Linked DNA regions of Homo sapiens: regions 1, 2, 3, 4 and 5 are each linked to region 6. The links are contacts of gene promoters, found by promoter capture Hi-C in blood cells and fetal thymus (Javierre and others, 2016). All regions are on one chromosome and are shown on one strand. The core of a region is centred on a gene start or on the middle of the fragment in contact, and the rest is flanking DNA. Distances in the headings are between cores, read along the strand shown. Region 1 overlaps CNNM2 (cyclin and CBS domain divalent metal cation transport mediator 2). Region 2 overlaps CNNM2 (cyclin and CBS domain divalent metal cation transport mediator 2). Region 3 overlaps AS3MT (arsenite methyltransferase). Region 4 overlaps CNNM2 (cyclin and CBS domain divalent metal cation transport mediator 2). Region 5 overlaps CNNM2 (cyclin and CBS domain divalent metal cation transport mediator 2). Region 6 holds the start of INA (internexin neuronal intermediate filament protein alpha).

The links. The method cuts DNA at HindIII sites, captures the fragments that hold promoters and counts their contacts. A CHiCAGO score of 5 or more calls a contact.
Region 1: a fragment that was not itself captured here is called in contact with the fragment with the promoter of INA in region 6 in 1 of 17 cell types (endothelial precursors); the score reaches 5.4 in endothelial precursors.
Region 2: a contact is called between a fragment that was not itself captured here and the fragment with the promoter of INA in region 6, in 1 of 17 cell types (endothelial precursors). The highest score is 5.5, in endothelial precursors.
Region 3: a fragment that was not itself captured here is called in contact with the fragment with the promoter of INA in region 6 in 2 of 17 cell types (erythroblasts and M2 macrophages); the score reaches 8.3 in erythroblasts.
Region 4: a contact is called between a fragment that was not itself captured here and the fragment with the promoter of INA in region 6, in 3 of 17 cell types (endothelial precursors, M0 macrophages and M1 macrophages). The highest score is 10.2, in endothelial precursors.
Region 5: a fragment that was not itself captured here is called in contact with the fragment with the promoter of INA in region 6 in 3 of 17 cell types (endothelial precursors, M0 macrophages and M1 macrophages); the score reaches 7.3 in endothelial precursors.

What each region holds. Positions count from the first base shown.
Region 1 is chr10:102,966,725-102,971,543 of GRCh38, reverse strand. The region is part of intron 1 of CNNM2 (cyclin and CBS domain divalent metal cation transport mediator 2); the gene reads right to left. Among named protein-coding and RNA genes, the nearest start is that of CNNM2, 51 kb to the right of the region's middle. The HindIII fragment of the contact is 6,484 bases long and covers 1-4,819 here.
Region 2 is chr10:103,002,312-103,007,425 of GRCh38, reverse strand. The region is part of intron 1 of CNNM2 (cyclin and CBS domain divalent metal cation transport mediator 2); the gene reads right to left. Among named protein-coding and RNA genes, the nearest start is that of CNNM2, 87 kb to the right of the region's middle. The HindIII fragment of the contact is 4,079 bases long and covers 1,272-5,114 here.
Region 3 is chr10:102,890,697-102,895,579 of GRCh38, reverse strand. All of the region lies in intron 10 of AS3MT (arsenite methyltransferase), which reads right to left. All of the region lies in intron 14 of BORCS7-ASMT (BORCS7-ASMT readthrough (NMD candidate)), which reads right to left. Among named protein-coding and RNA genes, the nearest start is that of AS3MT, 24 kb to the right of the region's middle. The HindIII fragment of the contact is 3,686 bases long and covers 407-4,092 here.
Region 4 is chr10:102,950,024-102,954,950 of GRCh38, reverse strand. The region is part of intron 1 of CNNM2 (cyclin and CBS domain divalent metal cation transport mediator 2); the gene reads right to left. Among named protein-coding and RNA genes, the nearest start is that of CNNM2, 34 kb to the right of the region's middle. The HindIII fragment of the contact is 3,168 bases long and covers 1,889-4,927 here.
Region 5 is chr10:102,983,579-102,987,967 of GRCh38, reverse strand. All of the region lies in intron 1 of CNNM2 (cyclin and CBS domain divalent metal cation transport mediator 2), which reads right to left. Among named protein-coding and RNA genes, the nearest start is that of CNNM2, 67 kb to the right of the region's middle. The HindIII fragment of the contact is 1,884 bases long and covers 655-2,538 here.
Region 6 is chr10:103,274,917-103,280,033 of GRCh38, reverse strand. It overlaps INA (internexin neuronal intermediate filament protein alpha), which reads right to left and starts at 2,896. Exons shown (of 3, transcript NM_032727.4): 1 at 1,758-2,896. The coding sequence starts at 2,822. RefSeq lists an enhancer at 1,877-2,481. The HindIII fragment of the contact is 2,856 bases long and covers 1,359-4,214 here.

The sequences.
Region 1 (4,819 bases), core at 1,190-3,689, 310 kb after region 6:
TTTATATCTGCATAGAAAAAGGTATAAAAGGAAATAAATTCCTAATAATGGCGACAAGTAAGAGTAGAATGAGGGGGTAAGTGACTTCCTATACCTCTGTATTATCTTAAATTTTATAATGGGCACTTAAAAAAACCAATAAACAAAATTATCTATGTTACACAGCATCACTTTCCAAACACAAATAGTTAACGTGATACCTTCATCTACAAAAGCACCATTCTTTCCCCTTTGTTTACTGGGTGACTTTCTTAAAAGGTCCCAGAGACTTTTTTTTTTTTCTTTTTTTTTTTTTTAGGGACGAGGTCTCTAAGTCACCATAGTGTTTGCAGAAAAAAAAAAAGGATGGGGTCTCACTCTGTCACCCAGGCTGGATTGTGTAAATGGCACAATCATAGCTCACTGCAGCCTTGAACTCCTGGGCTCAAGGGATCCTCCCACCTCAGCCTACTGAGTAACCAGGACTAGAGGCAAGTGCCACCAGGACCAGCTAATTTTTAGATTTTTTTTTTTTTTGTAGAGACAGGGTCTCACCATCTTGTCCAGGCTGGTCTCAAACTCCTGGGCTCACATGATTATCCTACCTTGGCCTCCCAAAGTGTTGGGATTATAGGCATGAGCCACCACACCAAGCCCCAGAGACTAACTTTAACTAGAGTCACCAAGCCAGGAAAGAACACATTACAAAACAGGAATCTTTCAATAAGTCTCTTCCCTTCCAGGGTGACACTTGAGAAATGAATTCAGGTTTCCCAGTAACAACAAACTGGAGAACCAACACAAGAACTGAACCAATGCCTGAAGAAGGGGGGTGAACTGGCCCAGGGAGGAAACAGAGCAGGTCAAAATTCCCATGCTGATCAGTACTGGTACTGTGCCTGTGAACAGCCACTCTACTTCAGCCTGGGCAACATTGTGAGACCCTATCTCTAAAAAAGGAACTGAACCAAAAGGACAAGTCAATAGCAAATTTTTTTCTGAGAATAGGCAACATCTGGAATGGGTGAGAGCCAGGGTGGGCAAACTTTCTGTAAAGAGCCAGGCAGTAAGTATTTTAGGCTACGCAGGCTGTACAGTCTCTACTGAAACTACCCTACTCTTGCCCTTATAGCACAAAAGCAGACATGGGTAACACATAAATGAATAGGCATGGCTGTATTCCAATCAAAATTTATTTATGACACTGAAATTTGAATTTCATGTAATTTTCACATATCACAATTATTTTCAAGACAGCATTTCATGCTGTTGCCCAGACTGGAGTGCAGGGGCACAATCATGGCTACTGCAGCCTCAAACTCCTCAGCTCAAACAATCCTCCCACCTCAACCTCCCAAGTAGCTGGGACCATAAGTATGCACCACCACACCTGGCTAAAATAGTATTCTTTTACTTTCGACCATTTAAAAATAAAATTCTTTACTCCTGGGGCATACAAAAGCAGGTGGCAGGCCACAGGTAGTTTATATCAGAGGATAATTTTACAAATCTCAAAAAGAAAGAGTAAAAATAAGTAAGCAAAGAGTCTCTAATAAAATAGTGTCTGGATTCTTCACATACAAAAATTCTTTCAAGAGCTTTAGAAAAAAATACAGTTAATAAGGCAGGCACGGTGGCTCATACCTGTAATCCCAGCACTTTGGGAGGCCGAGGTGGGCGGATCACCTGAGGTCAGGAGCTTGAGACCAGCCTGACCAACATGGAGAAACCCCGTCTCCACTAAAAATACAAAATTAGCCAGGCGTGGTGGTGCACGCCTGTAATCCCAGCTACTCGGGAGGCTGAGGCAGGAGAATCACTTGAACCCAGAGGCAGAGGTTGCGGTGAGCTGAGATCGCAACACTGCACTCCAGCCTGGGCAACAAAGAGCAAAACTCCGCCTCAAGAAAACAAACAAAACAGTGAACCACAACACCAATTGCCGCTATTATAGAGTAGTGTTTTCTGAAATAGCCGAAATAATTTACAATATTAAAAGACTGCCAGTCGGTGGAGAAATACAAAGCAAAACTACAACTAAGATAGCACTACTGGCTGGGCATGGTGGCTCACGCCTGTAATCCCAGCACTTTGGGAGGCCGAGGCGGGCAAATCACAAGGTCACGAGTTCGAGACCAGCCTGGCCAACATGGTGAAACCCCGTCCCTACTAAAAATACAAAAATTAGCTAGGCGTGGTGGCAGGCACCTGTAATTCTAGCTACTCGGGAGGCTGAGGCAGGAGAATCGTTTGAACCCCAGAGGCGGAGATTTCAGTGAGTTGAGATTGCCCCATTGCACTCCAACCTGGGCGACAGGGCGAGACTCCGCCTCAAAAAAAAGCACTACTAGGCGCAGTGCAGTGGCTCATGCCTGTAGTCCCAGCACTTTGGGAGGCTGAGGTGGGCATATCACTTGAGCCCAGGAGTTCAAAACTAGCCTGGACAACATGGCAAATCCCTGTCTCTACAAAAAATAGAAAAAATTAGCCAGGCATGGTGGTGCACACCTGTAATCCCAGCTACTCGGAAAGTTTAAGTGGGAGGATTACTTGAGCCCAGGAGGTGGAGACTGCAGTAAGCCAAGATCATTCCACTGCATTCTAGCCTGGGTGACAGAGTGAGACCCTGTCTCAAAAAAAAAAAAAAAAAAAAAGACAGCACTGGCTGGGCACAAGTGGCTCATGCCTGTAACCCCAGCACTTTGAGAAGCCAAGGCAAGAATATTGCTTGAGCCCAGGAGTTTGAGACCAGACTAGGCAACATAGTCAGATGCTGTCTCTACAAAAAAATTAGCCTGGCATGGTGGCGTGCACCTGTATGTAGTCCCAGCTACTCAGTGCAATGAGGCGGAAGGATCACTTGAGCCACAGAGGTCAAGGTTGCAATGAGCTATAATCGCACCACTGACCAGCCTGAGGCAGAGCAAGACCCTGTCTCAAAGAAAAAAAAAAAAAAGCACTACACTCCCAGTAGCATGGTTATAACTCACATGCCAAGTGTTGACAAAGATGTGGAAAATAACCAGGTTGGGTGGCTCACATCTGTAATCCCAGCACTTTGGGAGGCCAAGGCGGGCAGATCACAAGGTTAGGAGTTCGAGACAAGCCTGGTCAATATGGTGAAACCCTGTCTCTACTAAAAATACAAAAATTAGCCGGGCTTGGTGCTGGGCACCTGTAGTCCCAGCTACTTGGGAGGCTAAGGCAGGAGAATCACTTGAACCCAGGAGGCAGAGGTTACAGTCAGCCGAGATTGCGCCATTGCACTCCAGCCTAGGTGACAGAGCCAGACTCCGTCTCAAACAAAAACAAAACAAAACAACAACAACAACAACAACAAAAAGATGTGGAAAAACCAAAACCCTCAGACATTGCTGGTTGTAAAATGGTACATACAGCCAAGTTGGAGAACAGTTTGGCAGCTTCTTGAAAAGTAAAATATATATATATTCTTACTATATGACCCAGAAACTTCACTCTTAAGTATCTCCACAAGAGAAATGAAAACATGTCCACACAAAGACTTCATGCAAGTGCCCACAGGGAATTATTATTTTGAGACAGAGTCTCACTGTGTCGCTCAGGCTGGAGCACAGTGACACAATCTCAGCTCATTGCCACCTCCGCCTCCCAGGTTCAAGCGATTCTCCTGCCTCAGCCTCCCACGTAGCTGGGATTACAGGCACTTGCCACCATGCCTGGCTAACTTTGTATTTTTAGTAGAGACGGGGTTTCACCATGTTGGCCAGTCTGGGCAGGAACTCCTGACCTCAGGTGATCCGCCCGCCTCGGCCCCCCAAAGTGCTGGGATTACAGGCATGAGCTCCCGCGCCCAGCCTTGGAGCGTTATTAATAACAGCCTAAACCTGGACACAATACAAATGCCCATCAACTAGCAAATGGGTAACAGAATGTGGTATATCCATGCAATCAAATACAATTAATCGGCATAAAGGAACAAACAACTTATACATGCTACACCATGGCTGAGCCTCAAAAACATTTTGCTAAGTGAAAGTAGCCAAACAAAAAAGACTACCTATGATTCCTTTTATAGGAAATTTCTAGAAAAGTCAAATCTATAGAGACAGAAAGCATAACAGTGTTTGCCAGAGGCTGGAGATGAAAGCAGGGATTGACCCAGAAGAAAGGAAACTTCCAGGGACAAAGCAGTGTTCTAAAACTGGGTTGAGGTGGCAATTCCCAACTCTATAAATTTACTTTTACAAATCACTGGATTGTATGCTTACATGGGTGGGTTTTATGGTATGTAAATTATACCTCAATAAAACCAGTTTAGGAGGAGAAAGGAGGCCAGGCACAGTGGCTCCCACCTATAATCCCAGCTACTCAGGAGGCTGAGGTGGGAGGACTGTTTGTGGCCAGGAGTTCAAGACCATCCTGGGCAACACAGCAAGACCCCTATCTCTAAAAGAAATTTTTTAAAAAACGTAGCGAAGTATGTTGGCATGCACCTGTAATCCCAGATACTGGGGAGGCTGACATGGGAGGATCCTCTGAGCCCAGAAATTCGAGGCTAAAGTGAGCTGGATCACACCAGACCCCAGGTAGCCCCATGGACCTACCAGATTGCTCATAGCTCTCTGCATTCTTCCAGACACTTCCATGATTCTGTGCCTTAATTAAGTACCTCCTCCTAGAAACTTCATTTATATCCTGCCCCACTCCTCATCCCACCTCACTCCCAAGGAGACTGCATATTTTCAATCTTCCCTGAGCTTTGCACTCAGCACATGTATCTTCGTCTCCTTTATTCCCACCTCCTAATTCCATGACAATTCCTTGAGGAAAGGACCATGTTATTAATCTATTTTATATT
Region 2 (5,114 bases), core at 2,062-4,561, 270 kb after region 6:
ATTAGGGTGGGAAAGAAACCCCACCCTGGTAAATCTGAGGTCAGACCGGTTCTCTGCTCTGGAGCCCTGTTTTCTGTTAAGATGTTTCTCAAGACAACATGTGTACCACTGAACATAGACCCTTATCAGGAGTTTGATTTTGCCCTGGTCCTGTTTCCTCAAAATCATGTGATCTTTGTTCTCTTGTTTGCCCTTTGAAGCATGTGATCTTTGTGACCTACTCCCTGTTCGTACAGGCCCTCCCTGCTTTTGAAGTCCTTAATGAAAGCCTGCTGGTTTTGCAGTTCAGGTGGGCATCACGGTCCTACCGATATGTGATGTCACCTCCAGAGGCCCAGCTGTAAAATTCCTCTATTTGTACTCTATTTCTCAGATCAGCCGACACTTAGGGAAAATAGAAAGAACCTACGTTGAAATACTGGGGGTGGGTTCCCCTGATAGAAATTTATTGGGTTATAGAACTTAAGGCCTCAAAAATTAAAATCATATAAATGGGCCAGGGGTGGAGGCTCACACCTTTAATACCAGTGCTTCAGCAGCTGAGGCAGAAGGATCGCTTGAGGCCAGGAATTTCAGACCAGCCTGGGCAACATAGCGAGACCCCATCACTATAAATGAATAAATAAATAAAATTATCTGGGTATGATGGTGTGCACCTGTAATCCCAGCTACTCAGGAGGCTGTGGTAGGAGGACCGCTTGAGCTAGAGGGGTCAAGGCTGCGGTAAGCTGAGATCGCACCATTGCACTCCAGCCTGGGTGACAGAGTGAGACCCTAAGTAAAAGAAGAACCAGCATTTGACAAAATTCAGTATCTGGCCATGATTTTAAAACCAAAAAACCAAAACCATCTTTTAGCAAATTTAGGAATATAAGGCCTTTTTCAATCTGATGAAGGGGAGCTATACAAAATCTAAAGCAGGCCAGGAGTGGTGGTTCACACCTGTAATCCCAGCACTTTGGGAGGCTGAGGCGGGTGGATCACTTGAGGTCCGGATTCAAGACCAGCCTGGCCAACATGGTGAAACCCAGTCTCTACCAATAATACAAAAATTAGCTGGGCGTGGCAGCAGGTGCCTATAATCCCAGCTACTTGGGAGGCTGAAGCAGGAGAATTGCTTGAACCCCCAAGGCAGAGGTTGCAGTGAGCCAAGATCCAGACACTGTGCTCCAGCCTGGATGACAAAGCCAGACTCCATCTCAAAAAAAAAAAAGAAAAAAGAAAATAAATCTAAAGCAAACATCACAGTTAATGGTGAAATACTGAAAGCTTTCCCCCTGCAATGGGAAATAAGACAAGGATATCACTATCACTCCTATTCAACTGCAGGTCCCAAACAGTACATTCCAGAAAGAGAAAGAAATAACCTCGGAAAGGAAATATATTAAACTGTCATGATTTGCATATGACACGATTACATTCACAAAGAAAATCCAAGAGAATCTATATATAACCATGAGCTTGAGCCCAGGGGTTTGAGACCAGCCTGGGCAATATGGTAAAACCCTGTCTCTACAAAACATACAAAAATTAGCTGGGCATGGTGGTATGTGCCTGTGGTCCCAGCTACTTGGGAGGCTGAGGCAAGAGGACTGTTGGAGACTAGGAGATCAAGGCTGCAGTGAGCTATGATCATGCCACTGCACTCCAGCCTGGGTGAACAAATGAGACCCTGTCTCAAAAAAATAAAGTAATATATACAATGAAAAATGGTAAGTGAATTTACCAATATTGTTCCATTAAAGGTTAACATACAAAAATCAATTTTTTTTTTGAGAGACGGAGTTTCGCTCTTGTTGCCCAGGTTGGAGTGCAGTGGTGCGGTCTCAGCTCACTGCAATCTCTGCCTCCCAGGTTCAAGCAGTTCTCCTGCCTCAGCCTCCTATGTAGCTGTGATTACAGGTGTGCACCACCATGCTTGGCTAATTTTTGTATTTTTAGCAGAGACGGGGTTTCACCATGTTGGCCAGGCTGGTCTTGTACTCCTGACCTCAGGTGATCCACCCACCTTGGCCTCCCAAAGTGCTGGGATTACAGGTGTGAGACACCGCACCTGGCCAACTGTACTTCTATATACCAGCAGCCAACAATTATTAAATAGAAATTTTAGAATGAAATCATTGACAATAGTATCAACGAATCATATACTTAAGAATGAACTAGCAAATAAAATCTCTATACAGAAAACTAGAAATATTACTGAAAGAAATTAGGCCAGACACAGTGGCTCAGGTCTGTAATCCTATCACTTTGGGAGCCGAGGTGGGTGGATCACTTGAGGTCATGAGTTCGAGACCAGCCTGGCCAACAGGGAAAAACCCCGTCTCTACTAAAAATACAAAAAAATTAGCTGGGTGTGGTGGCGCATGCCCATAATCCCAGCTACTCGGGAGGCTGAGGAAGGAGAATCACTTTAACCTGGAGGGGGGAAAAAAAAAGAAATTAAAGACCATTCAATAATGGAGGGCTATAAGCCATGTTCAGGAATTTGGATGTTGAAACACTAGTTCTTTCTCAAGTTGATCTACAGATTCAATACAATCCAAATCAAAAATCCAGCAGGTTGTATGTGGAAACTGATACCAATTATAAAATTTATGTGAAAACACAAAAGGTCCAAGAAAAGCTGAGACGATCTAGAAGAAGATATGTAAAAGTTTGAGCGAAACAGACTCACACACACCTAAACAAAGGAATCTCATGCACTGCTGTTGGAGATGTAAACTGAGACAGTAACTTTGGAAAACCATTTGGCATTCTTTACTAAAACCAAACACAAGCATATCCTATGGCCTTGGTATACTCAAAGTGTGGTCCACAGCCAGTCCAACTGGCTCCTGACAAATGCAGACTCTCAGGCTCTACCCTTGAACTACTGAAGCAGAATCTACCTTTTAACAAGATTCCCAGGAAACTGATGTGCACAATACAGTTTGAGAAGCACTGCCTTATGATCCAGCAATTCCACTTCCTGGCACACACTTATCAGAAATGCACACAGATGTCCACCAAAAGACATGTTCGAGAATATTCATAGCAACACTATTCATAATAGCTAAAAACAAGAAAACTACCTAAATGTTCAAAAATAGAAAGAATAAAGTGTGGTATAATCACGCAATGAGGCTGAGCATGGTGGCTCACGCCTGTAATCCAGCACTTAGGGAGGCTGAGGCGGGCAGATCACCTGAGGTCGGGAGTTCGAGACCAACCTGGCCAACATGGTGAAACCCCATTGCTACTAAATACAAAAAAATTAGCCAGGCTTGGTGGCAGGTGCCTGTAATTCCAGCTACTTGGGAGGCTGAGGTAGGAGAATCGCTTGAACCCGGGGCGGGGGTGGGGGCAGAGGTTGCAGTGAGCCGAGATTGCGCCACTGCACTCCAGCCTGGAGACAGAGCAAGACTCCATCTCAAAAAAAAAAAAAAAAAAAAAAAAAATTCATGCAATGGAGTACTACTCAGCAATGAGAATGCACAGTCTACAATACAACTCACAAATATAATGCTGTGTAAAAGAAATCATATCAGAAGAATACACCTTGTATGTTTTCATTTATATAAAGTATAAAAACAGGAAAAATTGATGTTAATGTCAGGACAGTGGTTACCCGGGGGGATACAGTAACTAGGAGAGAATAGTGTTTTAAAAAAAAGATAGAGTCTCGCTCTGGTGCCCAGGCTGGAGTGCAGTGGCGCGATCTTGGCTCAATGCAACCACAGCATCCTGGGTTTAAGTGATTTCCGGCTAATTTTTGTATTTTTAGTAGAGACAGGGTTTCACCATGTTAGCCAGGCTGGTCTCAAACTTCTGACCTCAAGTGATCTGCTTGGCTCAGCCTCCCAAAGTGCTAGGATTACAGGCATGAGCCAACGCACCCAGTTTATTTCATGACATGCATAATTCTACATGGATGGGAAAACCCATCAAGCTATATACTAGTAACTTTTTGCATACTTTTCTGTATACACGTTATAATTTAAAAGTTCACTTAAAAAAGTACTAGAAGGAGGGCTAGGTGTGGTAGCTTATGCCTGTAATCCCAGTACTTTGGGAAGCTGAGGCAGGCGGATTACCTGAGGTCAGAGGTTGGCGACCAGCTTGGCCAACATGGTGAAACCCTGTCTCTACTAAAACCACAAAAATTATCCAGGTATGGTGGCTCGTGCGTGTAATCCCAGCTACTCAGGAGGCTGAGGCCATGAGAATCGCTTGGACCCAGGAGGCGGAGGTTGCAGTGAGCTGAGACCATGCCACTGCACTCCAGCCTGGGCAACAGAGTGAGACTCCTATTAAAAAAAAAAAAAAAGATTCACACATGTTATAGCATGTATGCATACTTCATTCCTTTTTATGGCTGAATAATAGTCCATAGCATGGATACACCACATTTATTTACCCATTTACCAAATGATGAACATTTGGGTTGTTTCCACTTTTTAAGTATTATAAATAATGCCGCTATGAACAACTGCGTACAAGTTTTTATGTGAATATATGTTTTTCTTTCTCTTGAGCATATACCTAGTAGCAGAATTGCAGGGTCATATGGTAAATCTATGTTTAGCATTTGGAGTAACTGCCAAACTATTTCAGAGCAGTTAGACCATTCCACATTACCTCCACCAATGTATAAGGATTCCAACCAGCCAGGCGCAGTGGCTCACGCCTGTAATCCCTGCACTTTGGGAGGCTGAGGCAAGTGGATCACCTGAGGCTGGGAGTTCGAAACAAGTCTGACCAACATGGAGAAACCCCCTCTCTACTAAAAATACAAAATTAGCCGGGTGTGGTGGCGCATGCCTGTAATCCCAGCTACTCAGGAGACTGAGGCAGGAGAATCACTCGAACCCAGGAGGTGGAGGCTGCAGTGGGCCAAGATCACGCCATTGCACTCCAGCCTGGGCGACAAAAGCGAAACTCTGTCTCAAAAAAAAAAAAAAAAAGATTCCAGTCTTGTCAGCCACATCCTCGCCAGCCCAGGCTTGTTATCTTTTTCTATTATAGCCGTCCTAGTGAGTACAAAGTGCTGTCTTGTAGTTTTGATTTGTATTTCCCATCTTTTCACGTGCTTATTGTTCATTTGTACATCCTTGTTAGAGAAATGTCTATTA
Region 3 (4,883 bases), core at 1,000-3,499, 380 kb after region 6:
TTTAAAATAATTATTAGTTTACGTTTTGGGGGCACAAAATGAATAAAGACATAATTTTGTGATATCAAGAACTAGAAAGACCCGGGCGTGGTAGTTCACACCTGTAATCCCAGCACTTTGGGAGGCCGAGGCTGGTGGATCATCTGATGTCAGGAGTTCGAGACCAGGCTGGCCAACATGATGAGACCCCGCCTCTACTAAAAATACAAAAAATTAGCCAGGCATGGTGGCTGGCGCACCTGTAATCCCAGCTACTTGTGAGGCTGGGGCAGGAGAATCACTTGAACCCAGGAGGCAGAGGCTGCAGTGAGCCAAGATCGTGCCACTGCACTCCAGCCTGGGTGATAGAGTGAAACTCTGTCAATGGAAAAAAAAAAAAAAGAACTAAAATAGTTGAGAACAAGCTTTAAAGGAGCAGAATTTTAGTATGTTATTGAAGTTAAGCTGTATAAATTCAAATTAGGGTGTCATAACTGTAGGATGTTAAACATTGTCAACAAAAAGGGTCAAACTCTAAAATACTTAAAAAGATTTATTCTGAGCCAAATAAGTGACCAATGGCCTGTGACACAGCCCTCAGGAGATCTGCAAACATGTGCCCAAAGTGGTCACCCTATAACTTGGTTTTATACATTTTAGAGAGACATAAGACATCAATCAATACATATAATATGTACATTGGTTCAGACCAGAAACGTGGGACAACTGGAAGTGGGGATTTCCAGGTCACAGGCAGATTCAAAGATTTTGTGATTGGCAATTGGTTGAGTTATAATCCAAAGACCTGGGATCAATAGAAGGGAGTGTCTAGGTTATGATAAGAGATTGTGGAGACCAAGGTTTTATCATGCAGATGAAGCCTCTAGGCAGCAGGCTACAGAGAGAATAGATTGTAAATGTTTCTTACCAGATTTAAAGAGTCTGTTCTATCAGTCTTAAGATCTGTTTTAATGGTAATGCTGGTCAGCAGTGTCTGAATTCCAAAAGGGAGGAGGGAATAATGAGGCATGTCCAAACTTCTCCTTCCCTTCGTGACCTGAACTAGTTTTTTAGGATAACTTTGCAATGCCTTTGCCCGACAGGAGGGGTCCGTTCAGATGGTTGAGGGTTTATAATTTTATTTTATTTTTTTATTTTTTTATTTTTTTTTATTTTTTGAGATGGAGTCTCGCTCTGTCGCCCAGGTTAGAGTGCAGTGGCATGATCTCGGCTCACTGCAACCTCCACCTCCCAGGTTCAAGGAATTCTCCTGCCTCAGCCTCCCAAGTAGCTGGGACTACAGGTGCCTGCCCCCACGCCTGGCTGATTTTTTATTTTTAGTAGAGACGGGGTTTCACTATGTTGGCCAGGCTGGTCTCGAACTCCTGACCTTGTGATCCACCCGCCTCGGCCTCCCAAAGTGCTGGGATTACAGGTGTGAGCCACCGCGCCCGGCCTAGAATTTTATTTTTGATTTACTTTCTCCGCATTCTGGCCTAGATTTGTCAGAGGCAACATCAATGGTCACCAAACTTTTATTTTATCTCACTGTGTTGCTGGGGTGGCACAGCTGCCTTCCCTGGGTCCATCTTGTGCCTTGGTGGGACCCCTATGGTCAAGGGGCTTAGAGCCAAAAGACACATAGCGAATTTGAAAGTTCTAGGCCAGACCAGGCATGGTGGTTCACCCCTGTAATCTCAGCACTTTGGGAGGCCGAGACAGGTTGGTCACCTAAGATCAGCAGTTTGAGACCAGCCTGACCAACATGGTGAAACCCTGTCTCTACTAAAAATACGAATTAGGGCTGGGCACAGTGGCTCATGCCTATAATCCCAGCACTTTGGGAGGCCAAGGTGGGTGGATCATGAGGTAAGGAGTTCGAGACCAGCCTGGCCAATATGATGAAACCCCATCTCTACTAAAAAAATAAAATAAAAATTAGCCAGGCATGGTGGCACGCACCTGTAGTCCCATCTACTCTGGAGGCTGAGGCAGAAGAATCGCTTGAACTTGGGAGGCAGAGGTTGCAGTGAGCCGAGGTCGCACCACTGCACTCCAGCCTGGGCAACAGAGCAAGACTCCATCTCGGAAAAAAAAAAAAAAAAGAAAAAAAAATTAGCCAGGCATGGTGGCACATGCCTGTAATTACAGCTACTCAGGAGGCTGAGGCAGGAGAATCACTTGAACCTGTGAGGCGGAGGTTGCAGTGAGATGAGATCACGCCACTGCACCCCAGCCTGGGTGACAGAGGAAGACTCCGTCCCCCTCCCCCACCAAAAAAAAGAAAGTTCTAGGCCAGATGGGAATGGATGTGGATAGGCATTAATAAACCCTTAAAATTTCTTAATATAAAAGCCAACAAACAAAAAGCCAAAGGTGAGGTTAAAAAATTGACTTATCTTTAACTTCTATGCATTGTGCTACTGTAATCTTGGTTTTAGTTACAGACTTACAGCAATTAGCTATACAAAACATAAGCACTGTTAAAACCTTTTAAGCTAAGGAATTTAGAGACTTCCGTTGTGCTACAGTTTTTTTTTTTGTGGTCTTTCAGTAATTTGTTCTAAAATTATTTATTTATTTATTTATTTATTTATTTATTTATTTATTTATTTTGAGACAGAGTCTCACTCTGTTGCCAGGCTGGAGTGCAGTGGCGCCATCTCAATCTCGTCTCATTGCAACCTCCGCCTCCCGGGCTCAAGCAATTCTCCTGCCTCAGCCTCCCAAGTAGCTGGGACTACAGGCGCACGCCACCATGCCCATCTAATTTATTTTTTGTATTTTAGTAGAGATGGGGTGTCACCATGTTGCCCAGGCTGGTCTTGAACTCCTGAGCTCAGGCAATCTGCCCACCTTGGCCTCCCAAAGTGCTAGGATTACAGGCTTGAGCCACTGTGCCTGGCCTGTTCTAAAATTTTAAAAAATATATATGTTATCTGCATAAATCTCATAACTCAGAGTATTAAACCTAGGAGGCTTTGACATGAGGTACCTTTATATCCTCTCAGTAATAATTTTCTTTTCATTCTACGAGAAGCAGGAAATTCTTTATGATTGGGATGGATGAAAAGGTGCCACACACATAATAACCCAGGAGGCAGAGTCCCTTATTTTACCAGCTGTTTATGCATCTGTGTGCCCATTTTTGATTTGGAGAGTCTGAAATAATTCTCTCAAAACTGGCCCTTACAGTCTCACACACCTACCTTTTGTGTGATAGGTCCCTGGGCCTAGAGAAGAGTGCTTATATAATTTTAGCAGCACGGAATTTGCAGTGAAAAGCAGATTAGGACCAGTGGGATTCCAAACGGGGGATTCTCTAACCTTAGAATATCATGATTCTGGTTTCTTTGGAAGTAAAACAAGGAGCTATAAATAACATTAATAATATGACAGTCAAAAGAGTATTCGTGTGTCAGAACAGAATAAGGAACCTATTCCACTTAGGGCACAAACTAAAAACATGAAGAAAAATTATAACCTGGTTTATCTTTAGAGGGTTATTGTAGCCAAGAAATAATTAATGATTCAATATGCACTCAAAAACAAAAGTCCAGGCTGGAAATCTAGTAACAAGTGTTATAGTTTTCCTTTGAAACCATTTCTCTCTCTAGCCTTCTTTCTTTTTTTTTTTTTTTTTTTTTTTTTTGAGACAGAGTCTCACTCTGTTGCCCAGGCTGGAGTGCAGTGGTGCAGTCTTGGCTCATTGCCCTCCACCTCCCTGGGCTCAAGCAATCCTCCCATCTCAGCCTCTTGAGTAACTGGAACTACCAGCATGCACCACCATACCCAGATAATTTTTTTGTATTTTTGGTAGAGACAGGGTTTCAACATGTTACCCAGGCTGGTGTCAAACTCCTGGCCTCAAGTGATCTGCCTGTCTCAGCCTCCCAAAGTGCTGGGATTATGAGTGTGAACTTCTGCACCCAGCTCCTCCTTTTATACTAAAGACAAATTATAGTAAGGCCAATTTATGTGCAAAATAAATTTTAGGCTTATTAAACTTTGCCTGATCATTTGCATGAAGTCCAGCAAGAGTTTGGCCAGATAGGCTCTTTTCAAGTTGGCTTTGCTGGAACTTTACCTACAAATGTTATTCCAGTCAAAGCTTTGGTAAAATAACCAAGTGTCTCCAATTGTCCTGTTTTGAGAGAAAAGACTCTTACTAAACTTATGCAAATAACTATTTTATTATAAAATCAGAATACTCACGAAAGGTCTCTGAATTTTGGAGAACTTGTTAAAGCAGGTATAATAGCTAGTCAGGCGTGAGCAGGGCAGGAGAGGGCTCCCCGCGCCGACTCCACCAGGAATGTCAGGCGATCATTAGGTGATGATCAGGTGGTTGTTAACTGTCTCTCGAAAATCATAATTAGTCACAGACAGTACCAGGGAAAGGAAGTCTCCCAATAAACAGAAACACCTGAAACTGGTGATCAGCAGCTTCCCGATAAGATCTCGGGAGTTGGGCAAGTGGGCTCAAGCATGCACATTAAGAGGCAAAATGGTGGCGTTTAACTGGTATATAACCGTCTAACAACATTTGACCAGCAAGAGAAGTGCGCCTCAAGAGACCATGCATACTGGCCGGGCACAGTGGCTCACGCCTGTAATCCCAGCACTTTGGGAGACTGAGGCAGGTGGGTTACCTGAGGTCAGGAGTTCAAGACCAGCCTGGCCAACATGGCGAAACCCCATCTCTACTAAAAAACACAAAAATTAGCCGGGCGTGGTGGTGGGTGCCTGTAATCTTAGCTAATCGGGAGGCTGAGGCAGGGAGAATTGCTTGAACCCAGGAGGCGGAGGTTGCAGTGAGCCAAGATCACACCACTGCACTCCAGTCTGGGTGACAGAGAGAGACTCCATCTCAAAAATAAATAAATAAAATAGTTCTCTCAGGT
Region 4 (4,927 bases), core at 2,223-4,722, 330 kb after region 6:
AGTATCGCCATTTTCACGATATTGATTCTTCCTATCCATGAGCATGGAATGTTCTTCTATTTGTGTCCTCTTTTATTTCATTGAGCAGTGGTTTGTAGTTTTCCTTGAAGAGATCCCAATCTTACCACCTTTTAAGGTCCTTCTCAAAAAATGAAGTCCCCTTGAAGTCCCCACCTCCAGCCAGCAAGTGGTTCTTAACAATGTCCTTTTATCTATCCAGAAGAACCAGCTTATCCAAAAATTACTGGCAATGTCTTTCTCCCCGAAAATTCCTGGATTGTAAATTCCTGGACCTGGATTGCATTGCTGTAAATTCCTGGATCACCCAGGAGGCCAAGATGTCATCATCTTTGCATTGTCCACAAATGCCTAGCAGCATTGTGCACTGCATACAGTGGCTCAACAAACGCTTCTGAAGAGATGTCATAGGAAACATGAAAGGTGAAACTGTATCAGGTCCCTCATCATCTTACATTTATTAATTGAATTATGCCTTTAAAAATTTTATTAAATATGACTATTGAAAAATACAGGCCAGGCACGGTGTCTCATGCCTGTATTCCCAGCATTTTGGGAGACCAAAGTGGGAGAATCAGTTGAGTCCAGAAGTTCGATACAGCCCAAGCCACATAGTGAGACCCCAAAAATACAAAGAATGAGCCAGGCATGGTGCTGTGTGCCTGTGGTCCCAGCTACTCAGGAAGCTGAGGCAGGAGGATTGCTTGAGCCCAGGAGGTCGAGGCTAAAGTGAGCTATAATCACACCACTGCACTCCAGCCTCCTGATGACAGAGGGAAACCCTGTCTCAAAAAAAAAAAAAAAAAGAAAAGAAAAGAAAAGAAAAATACAATGTTACATAGAAAATAGCACAGTGGTTTGGTGTCTTTGAGCAGTCTGGGGTTCAATTCTTACTATGCCACTTACTCACAAAGTAACCTTGAGCAAGTGATTTGGCCTTTCTGAGCTTTGGTTTCCTGACTTATAAATTGGAACTAATAATTTACTCATTGGGCTTCACTGGGCTGTTGTTAGGTAAAATTAAATAGCACAGTACCTCGCATATAGTCAATAATACATAGAGCTACAATTAGGCCAGGCACAGTGGCTCATGCCTGTAATCCCAGCATTTTGGGAGGTCAAGGCAGGTGGATTGCCTGAGTTTAGGAGCTAGAGACCAGCCTAGCCAGCATGACAAAACCCAGTCTCTACCAGAAATACAGAAAATTAGCCAGACATGGTGGCACGTGCCTGTGGTCGCAGCTACTCAGCAGGCTGAGGTGGGAGGATCGCTTGAGCCCTGAAGGTGGACACTGTAGTGAGCTGAGATCAAGCCAGTGCACTCCAGCCTGGATGACAGAATGAGATCTCATCTTTAAAAATAAATAAATAGGCCGGGCACAGTGGCTCATGCCTGTAATCCTAGCACTTTGGGAGGCCGAGGCAGGTGGATCACTTGAGGTCTTCAGGAGTTCAAAACCAGCCTAGCCTACATGGTGAAACCGTGTCTCTACTAAAAATACAAAAAAATTAGCCAGGTGTAGTGGCGGGCACCTGTAATCCCAGCTACTCAGGAGGCTGAGGCAGGAGAACTGCTTGAACCCAGGAGGCAGAGGTTGCAGCAAGCCGAGGTCGCATCACTGCACTCCAGCCTGGGCGACAGAGTGAGACTCCATCTCAATAAATAAATAAATGAAGCTACAATTATTATCACCTGAAAACTCTCCCATTGTGCTAGATTATAAGTTTTAAGTAACAATCTAAATAAAAACTGAAACCAGCACTTTTGATTTTTTAAAATTTTATTTCCTGTAATTCTTCACTGAGAAATCTCAAGTCATGTCCATAAAGTTTCATAATATAACAGGTGCAATACTGACATTTTAAAGCTTAGTAAAACTGGCTTAAGAGAATGGTTAAGTAGTTCAACAAATGCCAAATTATATTTTCTCCTTTACACTCATCAGTAGGAAATAATTCCAAGTTTCCCTGCAATAAATATACCAACTGACTTCACAATGACATCACCAACATACAGAGTTCTTACCAACCTTATTAGCACACCCTATATGTTTCCAGCCCAGAACCATCAAGGACTTCTATTCAAGTACTGAAGCAGAACTACTTTTTAGTCACAGTTGCATTGATATATTTAAGAGACCTACGTAACACATCCTATAGAGCTTCTACCAGATGGGGTGGAATACTAGGTTGCCCCCAACACTCGGGTTCCTCAGGAAAACAAGCTCCAATGTTCCCCAGTGCCCCAACTAATGAATTTAAACAGACTTATGTGAAAGGGTATCCATTTAACTTTTTTTTTTTTTTTTTGGTAGAGACAGGGTCTCACTATGTCATCATTTAACTTTTGTTTGTTTGTTTTTGTTTTTGAGACGGAGTCTCACTCTGTCACCCAGGCTGGAGTGCAGTGGTGCAATCTCGGCTCACTGCAAGCTCCGCCTCCCAGGTTCATGCCATTCTCCTGGCTCAGCTTCCCGAGTAGCTGGGACTACAGGCACCCGCCACCACGCCCAGCCAATTTTTCATATTGTTAGTAGAGACGGGGTTTCACCATGTTAACCAGGATGGTCTCGATTTCCTGACCTCATGATCCGCCAGTCTTGGCCTCCTAAAGTGCTGGGATTACAGGCGTGAGCCACTGCGCCCGGCCCCCATCATTTAACATTTTTAAAATATTATTAAAATCAGTTTCTGGCCAGCGTGGTGGCTCACGCCTATAATCCCAGCCCTTTGGGAGGCCAAGGCAGGACGACTGTTTGAGCCCAGGAGTTCAAGACAAGCCTGGACATTATAGCAAAGACTCTGACTCTCCCAAAAAATTTAAAAAATTGGCCGGGCGTGGTGGCTCACGCCTGTGATCCCAGAACTTTGGGAGGCCGAGGTGGGTGGATCAACTGAGGTCGGGAGCTCGAGACCAGCCTGACCAACATGGAGAAACCCTGTCTCTACTAAAAATACAAAATTAGCCGGGTGTGGTGGCGCATGCCTGTGATCCCAGCTCCTCGGGAGGCTGAGGCAGGAGAATAGCTTGAACCTAGGAGGCAGAGGTTGCAGTGAGCCGAGATTGTGCCATTGCACTCCAGCCTGGGCAACAAGAGCGAAATTCCTGTCTCAAAAAAAAAAAAAATTAGCCAGGCATGGCGGCACACACCTATAGTGCCAGCTACTCAAGAGGCTGAGGTGGGAGGACTGCTAGAGCCCAGAAGGTCAATATTGCGGTGAGCTAGGATCAGACCACTGCACCCCAGCCTGGGCAACAAAGTGAGACCTTGTCTGTAAAAAAAAAAAAAAAGAAAAAAAAAAGTTTCTAAAATTTTTAGACAACCATAAAACACACAGCAAAATAAAGGTAGATTCAGTTTGGCAAGTTATCCTTAAAAGCATGCAAGCGTGCTCAAAGCCCACAGAATGACTCAGGCTTAAAAGAAATACTTTCAGCCAGGCATGGTGGCTCATCCCCATAATCCCAGCACTTTGGGAGGCCAAAGCAGGCAGATCACTTGAGATCAAGAATTCGAAACCAGCCTGGCCAACATGGTGAAACCCTGTCTCTACTAAAAATACAAAAATTATCAGGGCATGGTGGCACACGCTTGTAATCCCAGATACTCAGGAGGCTGAGGCAGGAGGATCACTTGAACACAGGAGGTGGAGGTTGCAGTAAGCCAAGACTGCGCCACTACACTCCAGCCTGGGTGACAGAGTGAGACTCCGCCTCAAAAAAAACCCAGCCTGGCCAATATAGTAAAACTCTGTCTCTACTAAAAAAATACAAAAATTAGCCAGCTATGGTGGCAGGCGCCTGTAGTCCCAGCTACTTGGGAGGTTGAGGCAGGAGAATTGCTTGAATCCAAGAGGCAGAGGTTGCAGTGAGCTGAGATCACACCACTGCACTCAAGCCTGGGTGACAGAATGAGACTCCATCTCAAAAAAAAAAAAAAAAAAAAAAAAGAGAAAGAAAGAATTCCTATTGCCCCCAGGAGGAACTAATATTACAGAAAGGGAAAAATATATATATGAGTACACCTCACTTAAAGATAGAGATATGTCCTAATGTAGCTTCTGTAAAACAAATTGCTGAAAAGTGACTTTTATCTTGCAATTCTTGCTTTATTATAAAGCATCCCCTTAAAATTAAAATTACAGTGAGTTTTCCCAAATTATTTTCTTTTTCTTTTTTTTGAGACAGGGTCTCACGTTGTCCAGGCTGGAGTGTACTGGTTTAATCATAGCTCTATACAACCTTGAATTCCTGGGCTTAAGCGATCCTCCAGCCTCAGTGTCATGAGTAGCTGGGAGTGCAGGTGCGCATCACCACACCCGGCTAATTTTTGTAAAGATGGGGTCTCAGCTTTATTGTCCAGGCTGGTCTAGAACTCTTAGCTCCAAGCAATCCTCCCGCCTCAAGCCTCCCAAAGTGCTAAGATTACAGATGTGAGCCACCTCACCCAGGCCTAAATCACCTTCAAAGAAAAATAATAACTGACAAAATATTAATATCATACTAAATAACTACATATTAAAAAATACATGCACAGTTGAAAAATATGGTAAGACTCTGTTTCTCATATTATTTCCACAAGTGAATTAATGTTTAAGGCAATTTTGCTAAACTCCTTATCAGCCTGAAACTGTAACCTTCATAACTTACAAACATTTCATTTTTACCTTAGAAGTTATTTTTCCTCCATCAAATTAATCAACTGAGTATTTTCTAGACATTTTTGCCTGACAACGCCTATGCTCTTGTTCAGGAAATATTACCACATAATGATTAATACCAATATCTGCCTGTGACTAACTCTCGGCCCAAAGTCCTTCCTCTGGGTGCCCATAGCATCCTGCATGTATCTCCACGACAGGAGCTGTCATGCTGGAATCATGTATTTGAGTCTTTTCTCCCCTATTA
Region 5 (4,389 bases), core at 347-2,846, 290 kb after region 6:
AACAGGTCTCCAGAATTATCTGCTGCCACAGTTCAGGTCTTCACATTGAGGCCTCAGAGAGAAGACAGTGGACTCTGACCTTTGGCTCTGGTCTCATTATCTTTGGAACCTTAATTTCCAAAGGAAAATAGTGATAATTCCTGCCCCACATTTCACACAACTGTTGGGGGTGACAATCTTGAACCAAAGATGTAGGGTGTTTTATTTTTGTTAGAGCAGAGGTTGCAAACCATTTTTGACTATGTATTCTATGAAAATGTTGAGTACACCTCCCTAATTTATATTTACTTATAAATTATATATATTACAAAATATATACATCATGAAATCCATATAAAAATAAGCTTGGCCGGGCGCAGTGGCTCAAGCCTGTAATCCCAGCACTTTGGGAGGCCGAGGCGGGCAGATCACGAGGTCAGCAGTTCGAGACCATCCTCGCCAACATGGTGAAACCCCACCTCTACTAAAAATACAAAAAAATTAGCCAGGCGTGGTGGTGGGCACCTGTGGTCCCAGCTACTCAGGAGGCTGGGGCAGGAGAATGGCGTGAACCTGGGAGGCGGAGCTTGCAGTGAGCCGAGATCACGCCACTGCACTCCAGTCTGGGTGACAGAGCGAGACTCCGTCTCAAAATAATAATAATAATAATAAGCTTAATGTATATGCATATTCATTCATATATATATATGTAAGTCCTACTGCATCCCAAGGCACAGCTACATGCAATTTACCTTGAGGACTACCGCTTTAGAATATATCATTTTCTTTATGGTTCTCTAATTTCTTCTTCTTCCTTCAAACTCTCCACCCTCAGCCTTTGTACCCTAAACCCTCTGGTTTTCTTCCTCTGAACATTCTCCTTCAGCAGTTTACTTCCTGCTTCCATCTTTTAAATTTGAGCTTTCATATTAGGTTTTCTGCTCTTCTGGGGACACCCTCCCTTGGCAATGTTGTCTTACTAACCATCAGCAGAAATCTGTGCTTGTTCCTTCTGTGTTCATCTGCAACTACTGAAATTTATACTTGAATCAAAATATCTCACTATTAGCAAATCACCTAGCCCACCCTACCCATATGTCAACACTTACACAAAATCCCTATTATTGCTTATCCAGCTTCTGCTGAATCACCACCTCTAGTAATATAATTCTACGATCTGGAGGATAAAAACTTTTTTTTTTTTTTTTTGAGACTGAGTCTTGCACTGTCACCCCGGCTGGAGTGCAGTGGCGCAATCTCGGGTCACTGCAAGCTCCGCCTCCCAGGTTCACAGCATTCTCCTGCCTCAGCCTCCCAAGTAGCTGGGACTACAGGTACCTGCCACCATGCCCAGCTGACTTTTTTTTTTAAGTAGAGACATGGTTTCATCGTGTTAGCCAGGATGGTCTCAATCTCTTGACCTCGTGATCCGCCCACCTCGGCCTCCCAAAGTACTGGTATTACAGGCGTGAGCCACCGCGCCCAGCCACAGGACATTTTCAAATGGCTCTACTTTTTGGAAATTCTACTTTGATTAAGCTGAAACTAACTTCCCTATAACTTTCACATTAATTCCAGTTTGGCTTCTGAGGCTTTACAAATGGTCCATCACCACCCATACTCGGGAGAATCACTTGAACCCGGGAGGCAGAGGTTGCAGTGAGCCGAGATCACACCACTGCACTCCAGCCTGGGTGACAGAGTGAGACCGCCTCAAAAAAATAAGATAGAAGTAAGGACAAGATCACACAATTATATTTCAGTTATAATCTAGGCTTAGATTGTCAAATATCTAGTTGTAGAGTGAGCACTACCCTAAGCCTTTTACACACTCAAGTCTAAATCACATGCATTATCTTTGTAATCTTAAAATTTAGTCACATGATGACTTTCTCTAAGTAAAACAGGGCAAGTGAACATCGGAGCTAGTCCAAGCCCTATAAACCAAAACAGGTACTGAACATGACAGGTACATCAGGGCAAGCACAGACATGGTCTGGAGGTAAGGTGCAATCACTTTGGCACCAAGCTAACAGGTAAACAGATAACACTAGATATTTAAAAAACTTGTGGGTCTCCAAGCTGATGGATAATACTCTGAAGTCTGAACATGCCAACCATTTAGGAGACATCACTCCTCAGTTGGCAGGGCCCATTCACTTTGTTTAGAAGGCCCCCCTTTCCCAATCCTTTTACTAGTCCCTTGAACAGCTGTCATTAAATGATTACACTGTTGCTAAAAGACAGCTATTCTATCAATCTGAGCTGGTCATGTAAACAAAACAAATATTCTGCTGTAGAATAAGGCATAAAGTACTTATCTAGCCCCTAGGAACTTCCCAGGTAACTCAAGTTGTCTGGCCACGCAGTTTGGAGACTTGATGGCTAGAAAGAACATGACTAAGAGTAGCCAGTAGGATGTCAAGGAAGAACCTGAAGGAGAACATAAGTGAGACAGGGTCTGCTGGTTAGTTTAGAGCCATTCCCTTGGAAGAAAGGGACCATAAACACTTCCTGTATCTAGCTTTGATGAGGAGGAGCTTGGTATGTAAAGAAGCTTTCAGAGTTCTCAATGATGTTGACACAGAAATTCTCTCAGCCCCTTTGCCGGACTCACAGCAGAATTTTAAAATTTTAAAATTCTTTTTAAAGAATTTTGGCTATATCAGACAAAATAGGAATATACAGAGGAGGACTGCTAATTACATGAAACAAGAGGGTGAGAAGGGGAAAAACTTGTTTCAGATGGAAAGGATCCGCTATTCAAATTGTTTTAGAAAAAAAAGATAAAACAATCTGCAGCAATTTAGAATTCTCAAGGTCTGCCAGGGTTTCCTACACAAAGCAGGAATTTTGCCCAACTGCTGCAGAAAGTTAAAAAGAAAAAAAAGACTTTCCCTTCGTTATTTCCTTTTCATGTTAGAAAATATTAGCAAAATTCATCGCTTCTCGGCCTTTTGGCTAAGATCAAGTGTAGAAAATATTAGCAAAATTCAGTCTTTTTTTCTGTCCTTAACAAACTGACATTTAAAATAAGAGTAAAGCCCGGGCACAGTGGTCAAGCCTATAATCCCAGCCCTTTGGGAGGCTGAGGTGGGTGGATCATTTGAGGTCAGGAGTTAGAGACCAGCCTGGCCAACATGGTGAAACACCACCTCTACTAAAAATACAAAAATTAGCCAGGCGTAGTGACAGGCGCCTGTAGTCCCAGCTACTTGGGAGAATCACTTGAACCCGGGAGGCAGAGGTTGCAGTGAGCCGAGATCACACCACTGCACTCCAGCCTGGGTGACAGAGTGAGACCGTCTCAAAAAAATAAGATAGAAGTAAGGACAAGATTACACAATTATATTTCAGTTATAATCTAGGCTTAGATTGTCAAATATCTAGTTGTAGAGCGAGCACTACCCTAAGCCTTTTACACATATTCCTTTAAAATTACTAGTAACATCAAAAAATTTTCCTGCAAGAATCTTATACACATGAAGACCTGGAGCCATCACTTAAAAATTAAAATTCCCCTACTTAATGGCTACTGGGACTAAGAAATTATTTCTGATTATTTCTCTCATTCTGTTAATATATAACACTTCCTAAAGCCATCTTACTCCAGCTTTAATTGGCCAATTTAACCTTGGCTATTCTACATGTCAACACCACATAAAAACCCTATAATTGTTTATCCAGCTTCTGCTGAATCCTCCTCCCTAGTAAAACAATTCCACACATCCATCAGGGGACAATAAAGAACATTCCCAAATAGCTTTATTTATTGTCTTGGATTATCACATAAGTTTTTAACCTCTCTGGGCTTCAGTCTTTATTCACGTAATCTTCATCCATAACTACATGCATTCATTTATTAACTCTTTCAAAAAATATTTACTGAACAACTACTGCCAACCAACAGTAGGCTCATAAAATTTACAATCTGGCCAGGCACAGTGGCTCACACCTGTAATCCCAGCACTTTGGGAGGCCAAGGCGGGTGGATCACCTGAAGTCAGGAGTTCGAGACCAGCCCGATCAAACCCCATCTCTACTAAAAATACAAGAATTAGCCAGGCGTGGTGGCGGGCACTTTAATCCCAGCTACTCAGGAGGCTGAGGCAGGAGGATCGCTCAAACCTGGGAGGTGGAGGTTGCAATAAGCCAAGATCCCGCCACTGTATTCCAGCCTGGGCAACAGAGCAAGACTCTGTCAAAAAAAAAAAAATTTACAATTTAAGTGCTATGTAAAATGAAACAAACTAGGCCAGGTGGCTCATGCCTGTAATCCCAGCACTTTGGGAAGACAAGGAAGGAGGAGCACTTGAGCCCAAGAGTTCAAGACCAGCCTGGGCAACATAGAAAGACCCTGTCTCTACACAAAAATTTAAAAAACTAGCCGAGCATCGTGGTGTGCACCTA
Region 6 (5,117 bases), core at 1,647-4,146:
ATTCAGCTGGCAGCTCTGAGTAAGTTATCCTTTTTTTGTAGAAATACTGGGCTAGCCCTCCAGAAGACCACCTAGCTCGTACTTGGAGGCTTCTAGAAGAAAAAAATGAAGTCTCAATTAGCCAAATGTGATTAATTCAGGCCATCCAGGGGTTAGGGTACATAATGAAAAGTTCAAGTTATGGATTTTGAGGCAGAAATGGAAGTACTTATTTGAATGATAATGCAATACCAAACTAACCTAAACAGTCCAAGCAGGCTTTTTTCCTTTATCAAAGGAAGTTATTGTAACAAACAGCAAATACCTGCACATCAATAAGAATTCTTTAGCTTCTGATTAAAATGTTACTTTTGAGATTTCATTCCTTTCTTGGTTCTATTTTACCAATGTTCCAAGCCCTATTAATCTCACCAAATGTAAACTTTAATCCTAGCTAGAATTATTGCAAGTTTCTGAATTATAGTCATTCTATTCAAAGGAGCTTTTATTGTACCTTGAAACCGAACCACACTATTCCAATTCTTTTCTACACCTTCCATTTACCCTGTCCCCTGCCTCTGTGCCATTTGCGGTCATAATCCCAGAATTTCTTATATAGTAAAACTGAAGACACAGTGGCCTTTGTTGGGAAGAAATAGCCAATCAATACCATCACAGGAGCTTAGAGGACAGGGAAATATGGAAAAAATACATACACTAGAACAAAGAAAAACCATCTCTGTGACTTATCACATGCACTTACAATGAAAAAAATACTAACAAAACAGGAATTTTCAAGTGGGACCTCACAGCTGCTGAGCAAATTAAGTGTTTTTTGTTTAGTGCTAAGCCATCCATGAAAGCCAAAACTGATGTTGTCTATGAGGTGACCTTTGATTGCAGGTAGCCAAGACTGATGTGTTGGTGTTGCAGGAAAAAAAAAATCAAAGCAGTTAATTGCCTAGAGATTCATAACTGGGACACGAGACAGGAGAGACATAATTTCTGAGATGGGAAGAACTCGAGATCAGCACCGTGGACAGCGCCCCGACCTTTCACGTTTTGCCAACCGGCGAACGCTTTCTTAAGGAGGAAATGTCAGCTGGTGGACAAGGGAATCGTGTGTGTGTGTGTGTGTGTGTGTGTGTGTGCTGGTGGACAAGGGAATCGTGTGTGTGTGTGTGTTGGGGAGGTGGGTAGAGCAGGGTGGTTACTACTAGCTCAAGCATCGCTCAGCTTGTTGGCTCCCAATCTCTACTTTTTGGAGCGCGAAAGTCAAGAAAATGGGATAGGACTCTTCCCAGTTCAGGATCGCATTCTTCCTTCAGCCCTGAAGCAGACCATACTCCATAAATAACTTCTAGGGCGCACAGAAAGCTTTTCAAAGTCAACCAAACAAGCCAGATAGCCGAGACAGCACCGCCCACGTAACCTGCCCCGTTGGGCTCAGTCTTACTTTGGGTGGGGCACTGTTCTCCGGGTCGCCGGTGTGTGTAGGCCCGCTTGCTGACAGACAGGCAGAGTTGGGTTTTCGAACCTCAAATAAATTTAAGGGCTTCTTTGTTTGAAGGGCTGGGGCAGGGACATAAATGAGGGGCGTTCCCTAAAATTAACATTAAAGACTCCAGGGTTTTTTGTTAACCAGCGCCTCCAGCCGCGGCTCTTCTCTCCTCTCTTTTGCCCTCCCCTTAAGTCCTGGGGCCCAGTTTTACCAGAGGAAGAGGGTACGCGCGGAAGAGGGCAGGGCACCCCTCCCCACGCCCAGCCCCGGCCCTTACCTGGTAGCCAGCTACCTCGGCACTGTGCCGCTCCTCCAGCTCCAGGATCTGCCTCTCCAAGGACTCGTTGGCCCCGCGCAGGCCCTCGATCTCGATGGTGCGCGCCTGCAGCTGGCGCCGATACTCGTGGATCTCCTCGCGGCTGGCCCGGATGGCCTCGGTGCTGCGCGCCGCCTGCTCGTTCAGGTTGGCAAACTTGGACTTGTACCATTCTTCCGCGGACTGCAGGTTCTTAGCGGCCAGGGACTCATACTGGGCGCGGATCTCCCTCAGAGCCGAGGTCAGGTCTGGTTTAGCCACAGTCACGTCCACCTCGGCCGCGGCCTGCGACGACGCCTGCAGCGTGGCCAGCAGCTCGGCTACCTCCTCGTCGTGCACCTGGCGTACGAAGGCCAGCTCGTCCAGCAGCGACTCCACCTTCTTCTCCAGGTCCAGGCGGGCCAGCGTGGCGCCGTCCACGTCGCGCTGCTGCGCCTTCAGGGCGCGCTCGGCGCCTTCGCGTCCGCGGCTCTCCTCCTCGCAGCGCGCCCGCAGCCGCTGCACCTCCTCCGCCAGCCCGTCGCGCTCCAGCAGGGCCTGCGAGCGAGCCGAGCTGGCCTCCTCCAGCTGCGCGCGCAGGTCGCGCAGCTCGCGCTGGAAGAGCTCGCCGACGCGCGACGGCTCAGCGTGGCGCTGTCGCAGCGCGGCCAGCTCGGCCTCCAACGCGCGGTTCTGCGTCTCCAGCTGATGCACCTTCTCGATGAACACGGCGAAGCGGTCGTTGAGGCCCTGCAGCTGCTCCTTCTCGTTGGTGCGGATGATCTTGTACTCGTTGGTGCGCGCCGCCGCCTGGCTCAGGTCCAGCCCGTCGGACGCCGGCGGCCGGCGATAGGCCAGGCCGAGGCCGAGCGACGAGGCCGAGGAGCAGGCGGCCGAGGAGGCCACATTGCTGCGGGACAGCGACTGCGAGCGGAAGCCGCCCGCGCCGCCGGCCCCAGAGAGGCGGGCGGACAGGCGAGAGCCATCCCCGAACACCTTGCGGTAGGAGGAGGAGGAGCACAGGTAGTGCTCCGAGCCGAAGCTCATGGTGCCGGGATCGGGGCCGGACGTGCGGCTTCAACGCGAGCTACAGAAGAAAGGAGAGGTGCGGCAGGCAGGGCGCGGCGGGGCGGTGCGCCCGGCTTTTAAGGCGCCGGGGCTGGGGCGGCGCGCTGGGGGCGGAGCTCCTGCTCAGAGTCTGGCCGGGAGAGGGAAGGGGGGCATCCAGGAGTGGGGGCGGGGAGGCGCAGTGACTACCGCAGCTGCGCGCGCGACGACCTGGGGCGCCGGGACAGGGCCATCTGCATCGGAGTCGCCCCTTTCCGCAGCGCTTCTCCCCAAGAATCGACTGCTTCGGAAGTGACTCGAGCGGAGGGGTGCCTAAACGACTGAGGTTTCCCATCCGGAAACCACACAGCTCTGTCGCATCCCTTGACCCTATCCCCTCTTCTTTAACCGACTGGGAGGTTAGGGGTTTCTGGGAGGTGTCCCCTACACCCACCCTCATCCTGAGGTGAGGCGCACAGAAAGCCTTCCCGAGGGCGAGGTCGTGTTTTTCCAGTTACAGTGAGGACCTGCAGAGCGAGCCCTTGTCCCCTTCCTCAGGGTCCCCAAGGAGAAAGGTGGGAGATGCTACGTCAGAAAGCATCTCTCCAGCTGCCCCTCTGCAGCTCCTGGGGAGGCTCCGGGCGGAAAGATGTTCAGCAAGTGCCTCTCCCAGAAGAGAGGGGAGATCAGTAAAGAAAGTGACCCCGAGCTGCGGAGAGTGGGGAGAAGCGGCGGTACAGAGGGGAAAAGAGGCCAGACTTGGAGAAGCAGGAGGCGCTGGGAATTGCTGGGGCTCATCGTTAGGGCACTAAAGCATGGCACAGGCCAGGACCACAAGCTGCTGGAAAGGGGGCTGCAGACTTTTGTGTTTAGAGCATTATATTTTAAAATATTTCGAAAGGAGCATTTTTAAACCAGGAGATTTCACCTGTAAAGAAATTGGATTTCTGGCTTCTTCTGAAAATGGGAAGAGCTGGGATGCCCACAGTGGCAGAGGTGAGTTGCCCTTGCCATTTGTATAAGAAGTGTGCTCTCCTGTTCACTACAGTCCCTGCCATTCTCCACTGAATTACGCCCCCCTTCTTAATTCATTTACTTTACCTCTCTGACCCTGTGGGCATTTGAGATTTCAGTTTGTGTAAATCCAGCAGGGCAGGTTCTCAACTGGCTTCAGAGAGCCACTCCCTGTGCAGATCTCTTTTTGGAGAAAAGAGATCCCTGCAAAAAGATTAAACTCCAGGAGTGGGGGAGAGTGCTGGTGACTGAGCCGGCCTCTTCTGCCACATGGTAGGGTTGGTGGGGCAGGGGGTGAGAATCAAAGAATGGAATCTGAAAAGATGAAGGCTGGGAGGGGTCAGTGTGGCGTCTGTAATATGTACCCACTTGCAAGCTTCTAATATCATTCAGGATGTGGATATGGCTTTGGAGAGGGAGTAGGAAGACCTTTTTAGTTATATCCCAGAATTCCAGACTGAGGGCCTTTTATTGATATTGGAATCTTCAAGGACGTAGTTCTAGGATAAGTTTTACTTCATGGGGAAAGGGGAATATGCTTGGGACAGGCCACTAAAGGAAGGGTGAAAAGGGATCTTATGGGACTTTGGAGCATATCTCTTGGCTTTGTGCTTGATGTCATGGAAGATGGTCAGGCCCTGCCACAGCCTGCCCCTCTGGTTCCTCATCACAGACCAAAGCCTTGAGTTGGAGGGACTCAATTCTGAGGTCTTTGGGCTTAGAAAGACCTGGTAAGGTGAACAATAAAAGATTGCTAACACTGCTGAGTAATGATTGTCTGCCAGTACTTGTGCTGGCACTTTTGCATAGGTTTACCTCTGAACCATGCTTCAAGGTGGCCCTCACCTCCATCTTATAGATAAGGCACCGAGGTGCGGGTGCAGCACAAGGTCACCAGCAAGCAAAGACAAGCATACATTCTCTCTTCACTACATAATTCTGCTTAGTGCAGTGAGACTCTTTTTTTTTTTTTTTTTTTTCTGAGACGGAGTTGGCCGGGTGCAGTGGCTCACACCTGTAATCCCAGCACTTTGGGAGGCCGAGATGGGCGGATCACTTGAGGTGAGGAGTTTGAGACCAGCCTGACCAACATGGTGAAACCCTGTCTCTATTAAAAATATAAAAATGAGCCGGGTGTGGTGGCACGGGCCTGTAATCCCAGCTCCTCAGGAGGCTGAGGCAGGAGAATTGCTTGAACTCGGGAGGTGGAGGTTTTAGTGAGCCGAAATCATGCGACTGCACTCCAGCCTGGGTGACAGAGCGAGACTCCATCAAAAAAAA